2 separate regions of the Homo sapiens genome follow, and region 1 is linked to region 2. Evidence: promoter capture Hi-C in 16 types of primary human blood cells and fetal thymus (Javierre and others, 2016). All regions are on one chromosome and are shown on one strand. Each heading gives the region's core, a stretch centred on a gene start or on the middle of the fragment in contact. The rest is flanking DNA. Distances are from core to core; before and after follow the strand shown. Region 1 overlaps SLAMF1 (signaling lymphocytic activation molecule family member 1). Region 2 holds the start of CD48 (CD48 molecule).

Region 1 (5,937 bases), core at 2,225-4,724, 100 kb before region 2:
TCAACCTTCTGAATTCTTTTTCTGGCAATTCAGAGATTTCTTCTTGGTTTGAATCCATTACTGGTGAGCTAGTGTGATCTTTTGGTGGTGTGATAGAACTTTGTTTAATTATATTGCCAGAATTGTTTTTCTGGTTCTTTCTCATTTGGGTCAATTATGTCAGAGGAAAGGTCTAGGACTCAAGGGCTGCTGTTCAGATTCTTTTGTCCCACAGGGTGATCCTTTGATGTGGTGCTCTCCCCTTTCCCCTACAGATGGGGCTTCCCAAGAGCTGAACTGCAGTGATTGTTATTGCTTTTCTGGGTCTAGCCACCTAGTGGACCTACCAGGCTCCAGGCTGGTACTGGGGAGTGTCTGCAAAGAGTCCTGTGTTGTGATCTATTTTCAGGTCTCTCAACCACGGATACGAGCACCTACTCCAGTGAAGGTAGCAGGGCAGTGAAGTGGATTCTGTGAGAGTCCTTGGTTGTAGTTTTGTTTAGTGCACAGGTTTTCTCAAATGCTGGTTATGCTAACAGTGAAGTTGTCACATGGACAGACTCAGGACCTCTGGTTAGCCAGGACGTTACAAGTGGTGGAATTAGCTGTTGTTTTCTCCTTCCTTGGAGCAGGGCTATTTTGTTATGAGTTGCTATAATGGCTTGACTTGATTGGCCTCCAGCCAGAAGGTGGCGATTTCAAGAGAGCATCAGCTGCAGCAGTACGGGGGAATACAAGCTTGCCCTAAGGTCACCTGGATAAGTATTTGGGTTTCTCAGGTGATGGGAGGGCCATAGGGCTCCCACAAGATTATGTCTTTTGTCTTCAGCTACCAGGGCTGGCAGAAAAAGACCATCAGGTGGGGGCAGAGTTGAGCATGTCTGAGCTCAGACTATCCTTGGACAGGGCTTGCTGTGGCAACTGTGCGGTATGGGGGTGTGGTTCTCAGGCCAATGGAGTTATGTTCCCAGGGGGATTATGGCTGCCTCTGCTGCTTTGTACAGGTAGCCAGGGAAGTGGGGGAAAGCCAGTGGTGACAGGCCTCTCCCCACTCCCACACAGCCAGCAAGGCCAGTCTCACTCCTGCCATGCTCCCCAAAGAGCCAAATTTATATCCAAGCCTCTGGTATGCAGGGCTGGGATGTTGCCCTGGGATACTAGCCTCTCTGCTGAGAAGGCAAGCAGGGCTTTCAGGCCTCACCCCTCCCTGCCTGCTGTGGCTTCTGTGCTCATATCTGCACTTTCTATTCATCTCCACAGATCCTGACCAGGACAATTCGTACTCAGTCAAAATTATTACAAAGTTCAGCTGGAAGTTTCCTTCTCCCTGTGGCCCTTCCCCAATCCCACTGGCAGCCCTCCCCAAGGAACCCTGTGAGATAAAGTCAGAAATGACTTCCCTGGACTTCCTGGGGGACCAGGAGTGCCTGTAGGGCTCTTCCCACTGCTTCTTCTACTTTTGTATTTTGCTTGGCTCTCTAAATTCATTTCAGCTCTAGGTAAAGTTAAATTCTTCTCCTGTTATTTGGATTTTCAGGTTTCCCCAGTGAAGATGTGTGTTCAGAGGTAGACTTTCCCCCTCTCACACTTTAGGCACTCACAGTTTTTCAGCTATTTCACAGAGTTTGCAGTGGCAAGCCACTTCTTTCAAAGGGCTGGTGAATTCTTTCAGTTTTCCTGGTATGTTCCTGCAGCGGTTCTTGGAACAAAAGTTCATGATGTGAGTCTCCACACATCTGAGTGAGAGTTGCAAGTTAGTCCTGCCTCCTAGCTGCCATCCCCTGCCCCAGGGTAATTATTAATAGCATCTTCTTTTATTTTCCAATGGTTCTCAGTAGATCACATAGTGATCTACCTGTTATAATACTTCAATTGCCTGTGTTCTTTGTATCTCCTGCTGGATGACAAGCCAAACACTTAGTAGGAACTTAATAACTTTGTTGAATGAGTGAAGCATTGAGTAGAACTAGAAGTCTTCTGTGAAATAAACTTAGTACACTTAACCTTTTAGAGCCTTTCATCAATCCACATTAGCCTCCTTATCTCCTTTCAGCCTGTAAGAGCTGAGAAACCAGACACAGTTTCATCCAGTCTGTGACTAAGTCCACATCCTTTAGATACAAGGAAGTGGTGGGGATGCTAAGGTTGGGTGGATTGTGTTGCTATATCACCCTCTTGTGGCTGGTGTGTGAAACTCATCACGAAATCCTTTCTGTGGTATAAGTAGTTCTATAAATCTCAACCCAGATCTCATTTTGGTTTCAGGTTAGATTTGGTCATCATTATTTTTTAAAAAGTTTCCCGGGTAATTCTAATATTTAGGTAAACTTGGGTGTCACTGGCAGGTTTGGGCCATGCTTAAGTGACCAGGTGGCCACCTTTGACAGATCTACTTCTTGGTATATAGAAGCGTATTTAGTTTTCTCAGAGCTCACCAGGGGGCCAGCATATCTCTAGATCAGTGGTTCTCAACTGGGGGAGATTTTGCCAAGCAGGGGACATTTGGTAGTGTTTGGAGACACTTGATTGTCACAATCAAGGACAGGGCATGTGCCATACACCCAGTGGGCCGAGGCCAGGGATGCTGTTAAACACCCTACAGTGCACAGGACAGCCCCATGACAAAAAAATTATCCAGCCCCAAATGTCAATAGTGTGGCAGTTGAGAAACCCTGCTCTAGATTTTGTCCACAAGGGGAATTTGGCAGAGTTCAGGGAAGGGAATTACTCTGGCAGTGACAAAAATTAAACAATCCTTTCAACACAGTTCTCCATGTGGAGGGTGGTTCCTGACCTTTGGTGAAGGGGATGCCAAGCTAACCCTTGTCCACCTCCAGGAAAGGGACAACCTCACATCCTATCTGATCAAATCTGCCTCCTTCAGCATTTCATAACTATGGCATGGAGACATAAGGCCAGGAAACACATCATGCCATATTACTGTGTTATAAATCCTTTAGGAAACACAAGACAAAATTGCAATTTCCTTGATGGACTGGCTGTAATTTATTCATTTCCAAAAAGTAGAAACATAAACTTCAGAAGAAGAATCAATTCACAGTGGCTTCTCAGCCAGCACACACCACCCGCTGTAACAATCACATCCCCGCTGTGTGAATGGAGGAAGCGTCCTGAAGAGCCTGGGACTGTGCCCAGTTGTACTTCAGAACATCAGTCCCTTCAAACCGAGAATGGGTGTGTTCCTCCTGACTTCTCTAGAATTCAGACATGCTTGGTCAAAAGAAAACAGCATTAGAGGGGAAACACGGGGAAAACTTATTGTTTTAAGTCTGAGGAAAAGGCAAGCTCCCGCTCCCCATAGTGCCATTTGGGGGAAACTAGAGAGTTGTGAATGTATCACCAGAAGGGGTTGTTTTACCACGTGTAACCATGGTCTAGGGTGAGAGGCATAATGCCAGTGCTGTTTGGTGGGTGGCCCAAAAGACTCCCTCCCCAGTGAGGTCTTGAGCCCAGGGGTGCAGGATACTTGGAAGTGATAGCCTCTTCTTCACCCTTTGTTTCTGCCCTTCCTTCAGGTAGAATTCAGCTACTGGAAAAATCCAAGTGCTGGGAACTGAGCTTCTAGAGCAATCTGAGTTGTAGTAAAGGAATGGGTGCTCATAAGCCCGGGTTTACAAATCTTCATTAGTAGCTCCACAGTTTTGAGAGTAGACAGTGAATGAGGGTAAGGTTATACAAGGGTGGCGTAGTGGATAATTGTGAGGCTTTTTTGTCTGCCTACCACCTGAATCCCACTTCTATTATTTGTAGAATTCCTTAATTCATAAGAAGTGAAAGTGGAAAATGCCAGATATTCAATTCCCAGCCCCCCTTGGAGATAGGACATGGACATGTGACCTAGGATTGGCCACTCAATCCCAGACTTTGAATTATAAGCTAGAGATGAAAGGATGAAGAAGGGACCCTGGAGAATTCATTTTCATGGCAGACAGTGCAGCAGTAACAGTAATATCAAGTTTCCAAGTCCAGCAGAGACAGTGAGGCAGTGGTAGAGTCTGTGCCTAGTGCTGGGGACAGTGGCTGTGCATGAACAGGATCATCATCCCTGGGCTGGTTTTGTAATTTTGGCTGTGCTCCCAGCCACAGCCTAGTCTCTTCTTTTCCTGCTCACTTTCAAAGCATGGTTTTGCAGAAACTTCTAGCAGTTATTGGAACCAATCAGTATCTTTTCAATAGGTTCCTTTTCTACATAAAAAAGCCAAAGCCAGCTTCTGTTGATTGCAACTAAGAACTCTATTAAAGAAGCTGGTACCAGGAAACGAGATGCACTAAGCAACAGGCTTACAATGTGAATTGACCTCATAGAGGAGGTAAGATACAAGGCAATAAGGACCTGAGTTTTGAGCTGGGAAGTTGGTGCTCCTTATTATGCAATGGTATGATAGTGGCTGTTTCTTACAGTACTTACCAAGTTTATATAAGAAACAATAAGAAAAAGCAGGGCTTAAATTGAGGACAGCCTGTCTAAAAGCAGAGAATAGGAAAAAACAAAGGACTTTACTTAAAAAGTCTCTTTCTGCCTGCAGCTTGCAAAATAAGTTATTGAGCATTCAAAGATTTGAAGCTGTTAGACCAAAATAACTTAATTTTCTACTAGAGGATAAATTTAGTGTGAGGAGAGGTATGCAGGGAGTAGAAAGTGCCTAGGAAAGACCTTGACCTGCAATACCCCTTGAAGCCCTGGATATAAGAGGTTCAGAATCTGGTCACAGAGAGTCTTAGCTGAGGTTCCAGGTTTGTTGTTCAAGGGAATCAACAGAGAACTGGGATTTAAACATCATTTTGAGAAGTGAAAAATCACCATGGGACAAGTTCCTCTGAGTATTCCAAGCTCCTTTGTAACAGCACCATCAAACATTTGCTACGTTTTTCTTTAAAACTGAATGCCATTTGCACAGAACTGTACTTTTAAGGCTCTTACATGGTTTCCAGTCCACTGTTCAAAACTCAGAGATCTCAAAATCATTCTTTCTGTTTATTGACTTTTTAGCTTCTGGGTTTTGCAAATAAAATAATATTCTTAGCTTCCTTTATACAATAATATCAGAGTGTTTTATGTATAATAAGAAATTCACCCTTCAGCCTCTATTCACTCTTTATCCTGAGAGAGAAACTGAGGCACAGAGGCTTGATCAGGTCTGCAGGTTATCATGATCAGCTCCCAGAACAAAGTAAAGATAGCCAAAATGTAAACTTTTCCAGACTTTGTGACTGGTGGTCCAGTGTGTGAGATAGGTACTCAGATGTCCTGGCTTTCAGTCTGATTTTTATTATCCAGTTCCAGCCAAGAGCAAGATGCCCAAAGTCTGAACTCACATTACTGTCCATTTCATCTGCTACAACACAAAGATGGAACGCTGTTATCAAGTAACGCTCTGTTCTGCGCCTGCAGCCACTGCACAGCAAGCTAAATTCTTGGGAAGCCTCACTTCCTTGTTCATTTCACAGATGTATGTGGAAGAAACATCACCAGGGAGTTGATCTGAGAAGGGTACAGACGTGCAGCATGTCTGCCAGAGGAAACTTGGGGCCTGTGGCCAAGTTCAGTGTTCATTTTGGTTTTTCCATTTTCCTTCAGAAAGTCCCTTTGTTGGTCTCTGGTGTCAGCTCTCTGGAAGTGTCACACTAGCATAGACTGTGATGGAATTTGTTTCCTGGGGACAAAGCAGAAGTCTGTGAGTAGAGGGACTGGATACTCACTTCACAGAATGCAAATGAAAACAGCACTGCTGAGGAAAAGGAAAGGGTCTTAGAGATCATGGCTTGTGCAGGGTCTGTCACAGACAGGGCCTTGCTGGGACAGCACTTGGGTTCCCACACTGCTTCTCCACCTGCAACAAGGGCCACAGCTCCCTTCCAAGCATAAGCATGCTATTATGGGGAGCATGATCTGAGGACCAGCACTCAGTGCCCTGTCTCCCTCTTTGCCCTCTCCCC
Region 2 (5,718 bases), core at 1,513-4,012:
AAGTGAGACAGGATGAACAGTCTTCCCCCAAATCTGTGGGCAAAGTAAATCATTGTTATTATTTTAAGCCACGGTATTGTGGCAGCTTGTTAAATAGCAATACATAGCGGAAACAGAGATGATGACTTAAGTTTTAGACACGTGTCTGGAGAGTCTAGAGAAGATGTTTAAGAGACAGAAGTTCTGATCTTGGGCTCAGGAGACTGCTTGGGGCTTAAGAATTTACTGATGCTCTTCCCAGGTTTTCATCTGTATCGGATTCCGCATGTGTCACAATTGCAAAGCAATTGCACATTTTTTATTTTATTTGATCTTAATAGCAACCCCTTGAAGAAATGAGGAACAGATTATTATACCCATTATGGAGCTGAGGAAGCTGAGGCTCAGGAAGCTTTAATGACTTGTTGAAAATTCCACAGCATGGAACCCAGATAGAACTAGGTCATCTCATTTCTAGTACAATACTCTGTCTACTTCATCCTGCTAAGTGTTGTGGACAGATGGGGAATTGGGTAGTTGTGGAGCATGCCCTAAATCATTGCCTTGAAACCAAAGAACTGAGAAACCCAAGTCTGAGGAGAGAAGGAAGAAGAGAGCTAAGAGTGCTTCTCAAAGTTTTCCACAGAAGCATCCCTTACGGCAGAGGAGAGAACTACTTGCACTTCTCAGGAAGATATGGATGTGTAGTCCAAAAGGAAGTTTTTTGAAGTTGTTCATTCATTTGTGTAACAATTATTTATTGAGCACATGCCACACTCCAGGCCTGTGCTAAGTTCAGCAGCACAACACTGCACATGGTTTCTGTCCTCAAAAAGTTCAAGGAAACAGATGATCCACCAAGCAATTCACAAACCATAATCTGGAGCCTGAGGTTCCCATCTAACCATGCCTTCAGAACACAGTCACAGGCAGACAGTCCAAGAAGAAGTCACATAAAAACAGAAGCCTAAAAGAGAGGCAGGGAGAGGGCAGGAGGGAGAGAAATCTAGGTGGAAAGAAGGCATGTACATAAGCCCAGAGGTAAGAGAAAACGCCTCTTTTAAGGCAAACAGTAAAATTAAGAGATTTAGACACATTGACCTTCACCAAGATTCCCTCGCCTTAGTCTAGGAAAGGTATAATCATAATAGAATGGTTTGGAAGTTAGACCTGTGTGCCCTTAGGAGAATTTCTTAATCTCTCTGCAAGACAGTATTCTCATCTGAAAAATGTAGATAATAATAGCCACCTCACTATTTTCTAATGAAAGTTAAATGAAAAAGTATGCAAAAGGCCTAGCACAATGTCTGACACACAGTAAGTGCTTAATTTGTATTTTACTAACCCAGGTTATAGCCCGGGTGTTATAACCCAGGTTTACTAACCTCATCAAAACCAATATTATCCATTCAAAGGATAACATAATCAGGTGTGGTCTGATTGTTTCAAAGAAGAATAAATGACCAAGATGAAGCCTAGAAAAGAAGTCAGAGAAAGGTCAACTGTCAGGATGTTTTCAGTATGCCTAGAGAAAGTCCTAAAATATTCCAATTCTCATTGGCAACCCTGCTTTTCCCAATAGTTAGATGAATACTTCACATCAGCCCCCAATCCCAAGGTCATACCAATGTCCTATGCATTGAGTCAGGCCCACAGAACCTATATAGCCGTAGACTCACACAGTCATGAACCAAAGGACTCTACCTGAGAGGTAGAATATGTGAGAGACCGATCCTCCACACATTCTACCTCATCTCCCCAAAAGTTACAAACTATCATCATTTTATGCCACAGTGTGACTACCACATGTTTGTTGATTTTTACTGTTTTACTCAGAGTGGTGAGCATTAAAGCCCTTTAAATTAAAAAGACTTGAGTATTTACTTGGGGGAATAGCAAGAAAGTCAAAGGTTTCACTGCTGTTTCTCAGCTGGCATAAGAAGAGAGGTACTGGATGAAGAAAGAGGGTGAGGCAGCTCTAACAGGAGAAGGAAAGTTAGCTCAGCCCTTGGTCACACACCGGGGACCGAACAGGCTGTGGCAGAGGAATGGACCTTAACTCTTAGCAATCAGATGTGTTAAGGTTCCTTTGATGCTGAAGCACTTCCAGCCTCTTCTCAGACCCTCATTCAGAGACCCCAGACAGCAATCCTTTCCAAGCTTTTCTTCCTATAATTTTGATCTATCTTTTCTTTGGGTCAATGACAATATCATTTACCTTGGCTCAGGATGCAACACCTCACATATACAGAGGTCTCAAAGAATGCCTAAGGGAGTACAGTGTGTCTGAGCATAAAATGCAGCAGCTGTCAGTGTAGAGCTTCTTCTTATTCAAAATGAAAAAACAAACACTTTTCCACAACTTCATGGACCACCAACCACGGGACAAAATATGAGGAGCCTACTTCTCTTGCTCCCCAGGTTCCTGTTTTGATCACATCCCCGTGGGAAAGGAGATGAAGCTCCATTCATCAGTGCTAAGAAAGGCTCCCCAACCATGCCATGGCCATGCTATTGGAATGGAAATACCTGCTTTCCAGACACCAGATCTGGCTTCTAGGGTTGAACTACATCCCGTCTCCCCTTTCCCAACTGACCATGCCTTCAGTGCACAATCACAGATACACAGTTGGTGGAAAGTACCTTGAATGCTGGTCACCAGGAGTGACAGAGGCAGCAGTAGCAATTCCAGAGCCAGACACGAATCCCAACCTCTGGAGCACATGCTTCCTTCCAGAACTTCCCAGCAACGCAGGAGACAGTTGAGAGCCTGGCTAGAAAAAGGCCGGGGCTAAAAACGGAACTTACCAAACAGGGTTAGAGAGAAAAAAAAAAAAACCACTGAGATTTTCTCTCCACCCAGCACACTTGTGTGGGGCCCCAGAAACCAGAAACCGGAGGTCTTGTAAATTTTTTTATCTAAGAGCATCACGGAAACTGAGAACAATTTTGTTTGAAGGTACATGAGTGCTTTTTTGTAGGGGGAAGATTCATAGCTTCTACTGTACTCTCAGGGGGGCCAGTACTCAGAAAAGAATAAGGGACCCTGATAGAGAATGTCTGCTTTTCGTTCCCAGGCAGGAATCCCTCTGATTAATTCAGGGGCTAAGACATAGGAGCTTCCCAGTCAAGCCTGGGTAGGTGTCATTCAGAGCCTGAAGTCTGGGAAATCAGACCCACGTAGCCTTTGTGCTGCATATCTTACCCCCAGCACCACCCTCTGCTCTTCTTCCTTTATGATAATTCACTATTTGAAGTTTGACATCAGCCTATCCACTGAACATCAGAAAAAAAGTAAGATTACTTGGCCCAAAAGAATGGATTTCCCACCCTTGTAGTCTGTATTAGTCTGTTCTCACACTGCTAATAAAGACATACCCCAGACTGGGTAATTTATAAAGGAAAGAGAGGGGTTTTGTTTTGTTTTGTTTGTTTTGGTTTTTTTTTTTTTTGAGATGCAGTCTCACTCTGTAGCCCAGACTGGAGTGCAGCAGTGCAATCTCAGCTCACTGCAACCTCCACCTGACAGGTTCAAGCAACTCTCCTGCCTCAGCCTCCTACATAGCTGGGATTACAGGCAAGCACCACCATGCCCAGCTAATTTTTGTATTTTTAGTAGGGTTTCACCATGTTGGCCCGGCTGGTCTTGAACTCCTGACCTCAAGTGATCCACCTGCCTCAGCCTCCCAAAGTGCTGGGATTATAGGCATGGGCCTGTGCCTGGCCAGGAAAGTGGTTAAATTGACTTCTAGTTCAGCATGGCTTGGGAAGCCTCAGGAAACCTACAATCATGGTGCAAGGGGAAGCCAATACGTCCTTCTTCACACGGTGGCAGGAAAGAGAAGCACTGAGCAGCAATGGGGAAAGCCCCTTCCTTATGAAACCATCAGATCTAGTGAGAACTCACTATCACGAGAACAGCATGATGGTAACTGCTCGTATGATTAACTTACTTCCTACTGGGTTGCTCCCATGATATGTGGGGATTATGGGAACTACAATTCAAGATGAGATTTGGAAGGGAACACAGCCAAATCATATCATGTCTAGGAAATTTCAAGCTCATTCCTATTGAATGTAAATTAGTTATTTGCCCACCCAGGACCCACAGGCAAGCCACAGTTCCTGATATAACATATTTGTAATCACTTTTTAATTGGGGACATTTCTGATTCTCAACATGGAGATGAACAATAAAATGTCTGCTCTTCTCAGTCCTCAAACCTGAAGGACATTATGTTAAGTGAAATAAGTCATGCACAGAAAGATAAAAAACCACGTTCCCAATCATATATGGAAGCTTAAAAAATGAGCTCATAGAAGTAGAGAGTAAAATTGTGGTTATCAGAGGCTGGGAAGGGTAGAGGGAAGTGGAGGATGGGAAGAAGTTGGTTAATAGATACAAAGTTACAGCTAGAGAAGAGGAATAAGTTCCAGCATCCTGTAGCACTATGGAGTGAATACAGTTAAGAATAATTTAATGTATATGTTCAAAAAGCTAGAAGAGAGGATTTGGAATGTTCCCAACACAAAGAAATGATCAATGTTTGAGGTGATAGGTATCCTAATTGCTTTGATTTGATCATCACACATTGAATACATGTATCAAAATATTACTCTGTATCCCATAAATATGTATAATTATTATATGTCAACTAAAAATAAAAGGGAAAAAAACATAAAAGTGAAAAGAAAGAACCCTGCAAATAAAATTTGAAACAGCACCAGAATCAAATTCCTCTTGGTCAAATTGTTACACTTTGGAACTGTGTGTTATATTTTTCCTATAAATTGATTTAACCTTAGGATACGACCCTGCTCCTTCAGCAAGAAAAGATAACATTGTATTAGATTTTTAAAAGAGACCCTGTAAATTAATGTTACATTCTCTTTTTTGGGGGGAGGGGGGCACAGGCTCCCACTCTGTCACCCAGTCTGGAGTACAGTGACCACTATGCATGGCTATTTTTTTAAAATTTTTTGTAGAGATGAGGTCTCACCATGTTGCCCAGGCCAGTCTTGAACTCCTGAGCCATAGGATCCACACTCAGTCAGTGGCAGGACGGGGAGTGCTGTGACCTGCTTCCACCTTGGGCACCAGTGTCTAAATGAAGGGAACACAGTGGCACTAAGAAACTCGGAGATGCCAGCAACTGCGGAGCCCTAAGGGGTGTTACAGCTTTGCTTGGGGAATCCCAAGGCCTGAGACCCCAAGAAATGTTACAGCTCTCTCTCTCGTTCCTGCCACCTGCAGCTCAGCAAATGAGGGCACCTCACAGCTCTTGTTCAGTCCCACTGCCTGCAGCTCAGCAAATGGGGGCATGTCACAGCTCTTATTTAGTCTTGCTGCCTGCAGTTCAGTGAATGGGGGTGTGTCACAGCTCTCACTTGGTCCCAGTGCCCACAGCTCAGCAAATACGGGTATGTTACAGCTTGTTCCTGCCACCTGCAGCTCAGCAAATGAGGGCACCTCACAGCTCTTGTTCAGTCCCACTGCCTGCAGCTCAGCAAATGGGGGCATGTCACAGCTCTTATTTAGTCTTGCTGCCTGCAGTTCAGTGAATGGGGGTGTGTCACAGCTCTCACTTGGTCCCAGTGCCCACAGCTCAGCAAATACGGGTATGTTACAGCTTGTTCCTGCCACCTGCAGCTCAGCAGGTCCTGGGTTCTTGTCCTGCAACCAAGAGGAATAAAGCATGCAGACAAAGGAGAGTGAGTAGGTCAGAGAATAATTTTATT

The links. The method cuts DNA at HindIII sites, captures the fragments that hold promoters and counts their contacts. A CHiCAGO score of 5 or more calls a contact.
Region 1: a contact is called between a fragment that was not itself captured here and the fragment with the promoter of CD48 in region 2, in 4 of 17 cell types (non-activated CD4 T cells, activated CD4 T cells, total CD4 T cells and 1 more). The highest score is 6.6, in non-activated CD4 T cells.

Annotation. Positions count from the first base shown.
Region 1 is chr1:160,605,145-160,611,081 of GRCh38, forward strand. SLAMF1 (signaling lymphocytic activation molecule family member 1) reads right to left here. Exons shown (of 7, transcript NM_003037.5): 7 at 2,962-5,654. The coding sequence ends at 5,604. Among named protein-coding and RNA genes, the nearest start is that of CD84, 29 kb to the left of the region's middle. The HindIII fragment of the contact is 5,518 bases long and covers 716-5,937 here.
Region 2 is chr1:160,709,060-160,714,777 of GRCh38, forward strand. CD48 (CD48 molecule) reads right to left here and starts at 2,763. Exons shown (of 4, transcript NM_001778.4): 1 at 2,623-2,763. The coding sequence starts at 2,704. RefSeq lists enhancers at 3,012-3,191, 3,732-3,791. The HindIII fragment of the contact is 2,140 bases long and covers 2,138-4,277 here.